Linked DNA regions of Homo sapiens: all the other regions are linked to region 3. Evidence: promoter capture Hi-C in human tissues and cell types (Jung and others, 2019). All regions are on one chromosome and are shown on one strand. The core of a region is centred on a gene start or on the middle of the fragment in contact, and the rest is flanking DNA. Distances in the headings are between cores, read along the strand shown.

What was found. The method cuts DNA at HindIII sites, captures the fragments that hold promoters and counts their contacts. A contact is called where the count stands out against the background at its distance.
Region 1: a fragment that was not itself captured here is called in contact with the fragment with the promoter of DDO in region 3 in 1 of the 25 tissues and cell types used here (dorsolateral prefrontal cortex).
Region 2: a contact is called between a fragment that was not itself captured here and the fragment with the promoter of DDO in region 3, in 1 of the 25 tissues and cell types used here (H1 embryonic stem cells).

Annotation. Positions count from the first base shown.
Region 1 is chr6:110,986,801-110,989,531 of GRCh38, forward strand. RPF2 (ribosome production factor 2 homolog) reads left to right here. Exons shown (of 10, transcript NM_032194.3): 3 at 2,228-2,265. Among named protein-coding and RNA genes, the nearest start is that of RPF2, 6.1 kb to the left of the region's middle. The HindIII fragment of the contact is 4,760 bases long and covers 1-2,731 here.
Region 2 is chr6:109,703,086-109,705,785 of GRCh38, forward strand. The region is part of intron 1 of FIG4 (FIG4 phosphoinositide 5-phosphatase); the gene reads left to right. Among named protein-coding and RNA genes, the nearest start is that of FIG4, 13 kb to the left of the region's middle. The HindIII fragment of the contact is 4,656 bases long and covers 1-2,700 here.
Region 3 is chr6:110,414,145-110,416,844 of GRCh38, forward strand. DDO (D-aspartate oxidase) reads right to left here and starts at 1,431. Exons shown (of 5, transcript NM_001372108.2): 1 at 1,323-1,431. It overlaps LOC105377936 (a long non-coding RNA gene), which reads left to right and starts at 1,500. Exons shown (of 2, transcript XR_942856.2): 1 at 1,500-1,643. The HindIII fragment of the contact is 14,658 bases long and covers 1-2,700 here.

The sequences.
Region 1 (2,731 bases), core at 232-2,731, 570 kb after region 3:
AATTAGCCAGCCATGGTGGTGGGCGCCTGTAATCCCAGCTACTAGGGAGGCTGAGGCCGGAAAATCTGCTTGGACCTGGGAGATGGAGGTTGGAGTGAGCTGAGACCACGCCATTGCACTTACTCCAGCCTGGGTAACAGAGCAAGACTCCAACTAAAAAAAAAAAAAAGACATAGTATGTGGAGATATCTAGTAGGTTATTTGACTAATTAGGCCTTGAGTACAGCCAATAGATCTTTGAATTAAATCAATTAAGTAATCGAATACATTTTTGTTGTTGTTATTGAGGTGGAGTCTCACGCTGTTGCCCAGGCTGAAGTGCAGTGGTGCCATCTTGGCTTACTGCAACCTCTGACTCCCGGGTTCAGGCGATTCTCCTGCCTCTAGCCTCCCAAGTAGCTGGGAGCCACCACACCCAGCTAATTTCTGTGTTCTTTTAGTAGAGACAGGGTTTCACCATGTTGGCCAGGCTGGTCACAAACTCCTGACCTGACATGATCTGTCCGCCTCGGCCTCCCAAAGTGCTGAGATTACAGGAGTGAGCCACCATGCCTGGCTTTGAATATATTTTAAACTTGACCAAACTCTATGCCTGATAAGCATAGTCAATTCAGATGTCTGAATGCCTTATATAGGCCCATCCCTTTTTTGAAATGTTTGTCTGAATTTCATTGTGCTAACGGGAAACTGCCCCTCTCCTTCTAGTATCCATCAGCACAATGACCCTGCATATTTAAGTAAGCTTTAAAAGCAGCACAATATTACAGATTACTACAATAATTAAAATTCATCATGATGACTCTGAGTCATCAAGAAGAGGTGGCAATGTTTATTACACGGAAACAGGGAAATAGTTGGCCAAGAATCATCAAAAGTTTTAGTACTTAAAAAGGTAGATTTTACTGTTGCATTTTCTTTGTTCACCAACTCTGATAGTTGATGAATGATTATTATACCTTATTTTTCATTGTTTCCCTCATTTACCCATTTCTCTAATGCAAGGTAGTACCTGATGACATCTTTGTTATTCTCTATGGTAGAGCAGTACTGGCCATACAAGTAATAAATGATTATAGGCCAGGTGTGGTGGCTCACACCTGTAATCCCAGCACTTTGGGAGGCTGAGGTGGGAGGATCACTTAAGCCTAGGATGACAGCCTGGACAACAAAGTGAGACCCCATCTCTATAAATTAAATTTAAAAAAATAATAAAATACAGCCTGGACAACATGGTGAAACCCCATCTCCACTCAAAATACAAAAATTAGCTGGGCGTGGTGCATGTGTCTGTACTTGGGAGGCTGAGATGGGAGGATCACCTGAGCCCTGGAGTTTCAGGCTGCAGTAAGCTTTAATCACGCCATTGCACTCCAGCCTGGGCAACAGAGTGAGACCCTGTCTCAAAAATAAATAAATAAAATAAAATGAATGATTATTTGTGGATAGGTAGAACTAGGAAAAAAATGAAGAACATTGAATAATAGGCATTTTTTAAAGAGCTGTGTTTAACCTCTGGCTAGTATTCTAATTGTCATCATTATTACTGTTTCTAAGTTTTCTGATCTCCACGCAACATTATTTCAATCTGTCAGCCTTTCGTGATAGAATTTATTTTTTCTGTTTTTGTCTACTACTTTTTTTTTTTTTTTTTCTGAGACAGGGTCTCACTCTATCACCAGAGCTGGAGTGCAGTGGTGCAATCACGGTTCACCACAGCCTCGAATTCCTGAGCTCGGGTGATCCTCCCGCCTTAGCCTCCCAAGTAGCTGGGACTGCAGGCATGCACCACTATGCCTGGCTAATTTTTGCAGTTTTTTGTAGAGACAGGGTTTTGCCATGTTGCCCAGGCTGGTCTCGAACTCCTGGGCTTGAGTGATCTGCCTTGTCCTCCCAAAGTGTTGGGATTACAGGCGTGAGCCACTGCACCTGGAATTGTTTCCCTAGAGAGAGACTGGACTAAGTCGAGTTTAAAGAAATGAAGGAAATTGTTTAAGTTGGATAGACTATTGACAGGGCATAGAAACTTTTAAATAGGAAAGTCTAGTCCAAGAATATTAAGCTTACATTTCAAGTTACTGTAAGTGATGAAAAGGGAGCCAGGCAGAAGCCCTCAGAATAAGATTGAGGCCCCAGAGCAATCTTGGAGAGTGACTGTTATGATGCTTTATTTTTATTTCTGCTTTTCAGAATGTGTTTTGTTTTGAAAGCTATAAATTTTGTTTTACAGTATGCACTGAAAAAACCATACGGTGTACTATATAAAAAGTAAGTCATGATTTCTTTTACTGTATTTTAAATGATTTTGTTTCATTATAAAAGTAACCACTTTATGGAAGATTTGGAAAACAAAAACTTTTTAAAAAGATATTAAAATTCCTTACAGTTATTAATATTTTAATTTCTTTCTTTTGGTCTGTTTTTTTCATTTGTATTGAATGTCCTTGCATAGTTGTAACCATAGCATATATATTTTATTTTGAAATACAGATTTACAGAAAAGTGCAAAAATAATGCAGAATTCCCATATACCCTTCACCTGGCTTCCCCTAATGTTACATCTTGCATAACCGTAATGCAATGATCAAAACTAATAAATTAACACCGATTCACTCATGTTAATCAAATGACAGACATATTTGATTAGCACCAGTTTTTCTTTTTTCCTTCTTTTGAGACGGAGTCCTGTTGTCGCCCGGCTGGAGTGCAGTGGCATGATCTCTGCTCACTACAA
Region 2 (2,700 bases), core at 148-2,647, 710 kb before region 3:
TTCATAGAAGTTCATTTTTTTTTTAAGCCCATGAGTATCTAAAAATGTCCTATGCCACCCTCAGGTTTGATTGATAAAATAAATACTGAATTAAGGATTGGAATGAATTTTCCTTTAGAGTTTTGAAGGCCTTATGTCATTCTCTTCCACCTTCCAGCATTGTTGCTGAGAGCTTCTAATGTTACTCTGTTCTTGATCTTTAGTTTGAAGCTTGTTTTTTTTTCTTTTCAGAAGCTGTGCTAACTTCTTTTTGTGCTCTCTTCTTTTTATCTTCTTCTGACACTACAGAGGTATCAGGGGCTTCAAATTCCCAAGCCTTTTGGAGGTTCTATTGTGTAAATTGGATTGCTTCTTGACTTTACCATTGCCAGTTTAGGAGTCAGCTTTGTTACACATGCTTTTCAGTTTCAAATGGTTTTTATTTTTCTCCTTTATCTTCTTTGTTCCTCCTTTTGCTCTTGGGGCTTGAGCCTAAAAACAAACATAAAAAACTTTACTATGGTTTTAGTAAGATGTTTGGGAGGACCAGAGGTGTCCACTCCTCCATCTTTATCCAGGATTCTACCTGTTTTGCACCTCAGACATCTCTGTTGTGGATCTTGCCCCCTCTCTGTCCCTGAGACTGCCCACAGAAGGGCCACTCACAAGCGCCTGTCATCAGATGCTCTGTCCTTATCGACTTGACTTCTCAGCAGCATCTGATGTGACTGCTTTCTCCTTTCCCAGATGATCTTTCTTTGCTTTGACGAGTCCACCTCGTGCTGGGGTTTTCTCATTCACCAGCCATTCCTCCCAATCTTCTCAGCTGGTTCCTTCTCCGTATCCAGCCTCTAAATAATGGAGTTCCTCAGGCTAGCTTTTTTGGGCTCTCGTCACTCTCCCTACTCTCTCTAGTAGGTTTAACCCAGTCCCATGGCTTTAAATGCTGCATACATGCTGATGGCACCCACTGAGCTCTTTTACCCACTGAGTTCTCACTTGGCCTCTCTGGGCATGTTGTGAACAGAACTCTTGGTTTCCCTTCAAACCTGTTTCTTCTCCAGTCATCTCGACATCAGTAAGTGGCACCATCATCTAGCTATCTGCTTAAAGGTAATTGGATCTATTACTCTCCTTCCTGATCCCATCTACCAGTAAGTTATATATCCAAAATATATCTTCAGTTTATCTTTTTCCTCAGGCATCGAGCCTAGTGCCTGACACATATGAGGCATTTACTAGTCAGTGGTCCAATGAGTGACATCAATAGAAACACCAAGAAAATGTATGTAAAAAAATGTGGGCTTGGGGCCAGGCATGGTGGCTCATGCCTGTAATCCCAGCACTTTGGGAGGCCAAGGCAGGTGGATCATTTGAGGTCAGGAGTTCAAGACCAGCCAGGCCAACATGGCGAAACCCTGTCTCTACTAAAAATACAACAACAACAAAAAAAATTAGCCACGTGTCATGGTGCACGTCTGTAATCCCAGCTACTTGGGAGGCTGAGGGAGGAGAATTGCTTGAACCTGGGAAGCCAGGACGCAGAGGTTCTGGTGAGCCAAGATTACACCACTGCACTCCAGCCTGGGTGACAGAGTGAGACTCCATCTCAAAAAAAAAAAAAAAAAAAAAAAGTAGGCTCTTTAAAAATGGGGAAGTCATGAAAAACAAAGCCTGATGAACTATTCTAGATTAAAAGATTTAAAAAGATGTAACATAACTTTACATAAAGATAGGTAGTACATGATCCTTGATTAGATTCTGGCTTTATCAAATCCAGCTATAGAGGGTATTATAGGGAGATGGGGGGAAAATTGGAATATAAATTGTACATATATATTGTATTGATGATATTATGATTATGTGTTACGATACCTGCAACTCATTTCCAGAGGTTCAGAGGAAGAAAGCATCTATCAGGAGTGGGGGAGGGAGAAAACAAATGCAACAAAATGTTAACAGTTGGTGAGTCTAGATGAAGGGTATATGGGTGTTCGTTGTACTGTTCTGTTGTCTTTGAAGATTTTTTTAAATTAAAAATTGGGAAAAAAATCAACAGTGGAGAAAAATTTAGTGGAGGGAAACTTTAGGGAAATTTTTAATCCCCAAAATGCTGAGGTCCATTTTGAAGCATACTATTAAATGTAACAAAGGCTGAGGATATACAGTGTTGATATATTCAATAGGAAGGAAATAAGAACGAGTAGAAACAAGGCCTTTCTGGAAGTTACCTCTTAAAAAATTGGTGTGAAAGTGGATGGTCAGCTGCCCACCAGAGGGCAGTGCAGGCAGTGATTCCGCGGTCTACAGTAGGCCAGCTGAAAAGCAGGGGTTTTCTTTCCCTCATAACTGGCTCCACATGAGGTCGCTATTCTCTGCACAAAACGTTTTTAGGATTCTTAGACTGTTTGAGAAGAGAGAGAATGCGGGTAGGTATAGTGCTTCCCATTTCTTTCCCTCCACTCTGATCTATTTCCAGATTCTGTGGGTTTTAGCCTTTGGCTCCTCTGATTCATGGATTCTTTGGAAGGATCTAGATATTGGAAGTACAGATCTGCCTTCCTAAGTATGTGTTTCGAAGTCCAATAATGCATTTGCCCATGAGCATGTCAGGATTTATATCTGTTTTTAAAATCACAAACTGCCAAAGTATCATCCCATTGCAATTAATCTTTAGGTTTCGTAGGATTTATTAAAATTCTGTACAACAAACCCCTGTGA
Region 3 (2,700 bases), core at 181-2,680:
AGTCTTTGCTCCCAGAACTACCTGAGGAGCAGTGGTGAGGGGCATGACCCATGAGCAACTCAAAACTCAACTCTGTCTACAAAGTTGTTTCTAATAATAAGGACATTACAGAAAGTTTCAGCAGCTGAACTCAGTCTCCTCTGCCATCTGCCACTGTCACCGGCCCCCTGTCTGTCCTGGACAGGTTCTGTAACCTGAGGAGCAGTCCGTGGTCTCCTAGCCTCCACTCCCTCATCTGTAACACAGAACAGATGGATTACTTGCTCCTTTGGGTGGTAAATAAGAGAGACCCAGTGAGGCGGTCTCATAAAGGGGGCTCCTTGGGAGAGTCTGAATGGAAATGCAGGGGACAGACATCCCGGAGCCCGGGCCAGGTGTCCTGAGGCTGGCACCCTCTGTCCCACCCCTCACCCACGGAGCCTTGCTCCACTGTCAGCATCCCCGCCTGCCTTTGCTTCCCTGTTTTTGGCTTTCCCCATCTGTTCCTGCTCTGACTCTTTCTGTATGGCTCAGGTTTAAACTCCAGAGAGAGAAAATGCAGTTGTACCAGTTGGTCATTGCATCCCCTGTTGGACAAAATTCTAGCACCAGGCCAACTTGCTGGGCTAAACCAGCCTCTGAATGTGCCCTTGGCATAGTTGCCCTTCTCTGTCCAAAGCACAGTAATCAGGGTACTGGGCCACATGGTACAAACCATGGCCACCCACACACAGAGGTTCACCTTTCCTCTGGAAGGCTGGGCAGCTTCCTCAGCAAGGGCTGTTGGCAGGAAAAACGTGGGCTTGGTTGTTAGTGGCCTCTGCTTTCTCTTCCAGTTCTGAAGATTCTCGCACTATGAGACTTTAAAGCCCTCCAATGAAGTTTAGTGTGATATTCCTATTCCTCGAGCAGTCTATGCATTTCTGTGCTAATTTGATACGTTAATTTGATTGCTGTACAGTGGGCTGGTCAGCTGAGAGAGAGTGGGCCTGCCAGGGCTGAGGGAAGAGAAGGGAACGGGCCCAGGCCAGAGCAGTCTGGTGGGGGCCAGCTTGAGTAGAGCTGTCCTGCAGCCACCAGTGACCTTATTGACTTCGCTGTTTCACATCAGCCTCCCATGTCCAGCAACTCTCTCAAAACAGCTCTAATAAACTAAGTTGAAAGGGCAAGCAATCTGTGGCTAAGAATAACCAGCTGCCAGGGAGGAGGAGTGAGCGAGCAATGTGGTGTGTCCTGGCACAGTGGCCTGTCCATCACTGTCCCCTGACCCTATTCAGACACACTCCCAAACTCCCAGAGCATGGACGGAACGACCCCTCAGCTGAAAGCAAGAATTCAAGTACCTGTCTCTGAAAAAGCAGTCTTGGAAGCCACCAAAATCTCTGGCACCAAACCTTGTTTCCCAGTGCCTGGCTGGTCTCATGCCCTGAGAGACAGAGAGAAAGCGAAACTGATTCCCATTGGTGACTTGATTCAGGACATTCCCCCTGGTCTTCCTTTCCATTGGCCTGCATGGCTGTCTCTGTCACCCATTGCCCCGGAGAAAGGAGCAAGTGACCTCAACCTGTCATCTCCATGGCGCTGTCTCTGCCAAGCCCTTCCCTTTCTGGCCCACGAGCCCTCTGTCTGGCCGCCAGCCTGGGCTTTCTCCAGCTGATTTGTAGGTATGGTGAATAATGGGTGAGCCTGTCCAACTTCCAACCTCGTTTGGCTGCCCACAGTTAGCCGGGTGCCTGGCTCTGCTGGGTCAGCTGGTGGGGGAAGCAGGAAGGAGGGGGTGAGGGCTGAGTAATGTTGTTGATTGATTGGAGCTGGAAACACTATTCAGGAGATAATCTAGGATAGAACCACATGATTCTTTAGCCCAGCAGTCCCCAGCCTTTTAGGCACCAGGGGCTGGTTTCATGGAAGACAATTTTTCCACAGACTGGGGATGGGGAGATGGTTTCAGGATGATTCAAGTGTGTTACATTTACTGTGCACTTTATTTTTATTATTATTCGTTGTAATATATAATGAAATAATTATACAACTCAACATAATGTAGAATTAGTGGGAGCCCTGAGCTTGTTTTCCTGCAATTAGATGGTTTTCTCTGAAAGTAATGGGAGGCAGTGACAGATCATCAGGCATTAGATTCTCATAAAGAGCACACAAACTGGATCCCTTGTGTGCGCAGTTTACAGTAGGTTTGTGCTCCTATAAGAATCTAGTGCCTCAGCTGATCTGACAAGAGGCAGAGCTCAGGCAGTAATGCAAATGATAGGGAGTGGGTATAAATGAAGACAAAGCTTTGCTTGCTCACCCACGGCTCACCTCCTGCTGTGAGGCCAGTTCCTAACAGGCCACGGACTGGTAGTGGTCTGTGGCCTGGGGATTTGGGATCCCTGATTTAGCCCACATATTCAAAGAAGGGATTCAATATTTGATGAGTGTCTACTGAGCTCTAGGCATGAGGCACAGTTAACAAGTTTGTTTCCAGGGAGGCAGTGTGATGTGTCAAATTAGTGACAATAATATTTTCAATAATGTATATGTAGCATTAACCATGTGCTAGACACATGTATGACATCATATATCACAACCACCCTATGAAGTAGGTACTATTATCACTATCCCCATTTTGTATATGAGTACATTGAGGCTCCAAGACAGTAAGGAAGGGTCCAGGGTCTCTTAAATGGTAAAATCCAGTCTGGATATCTGACGTCAAGGCTCAAG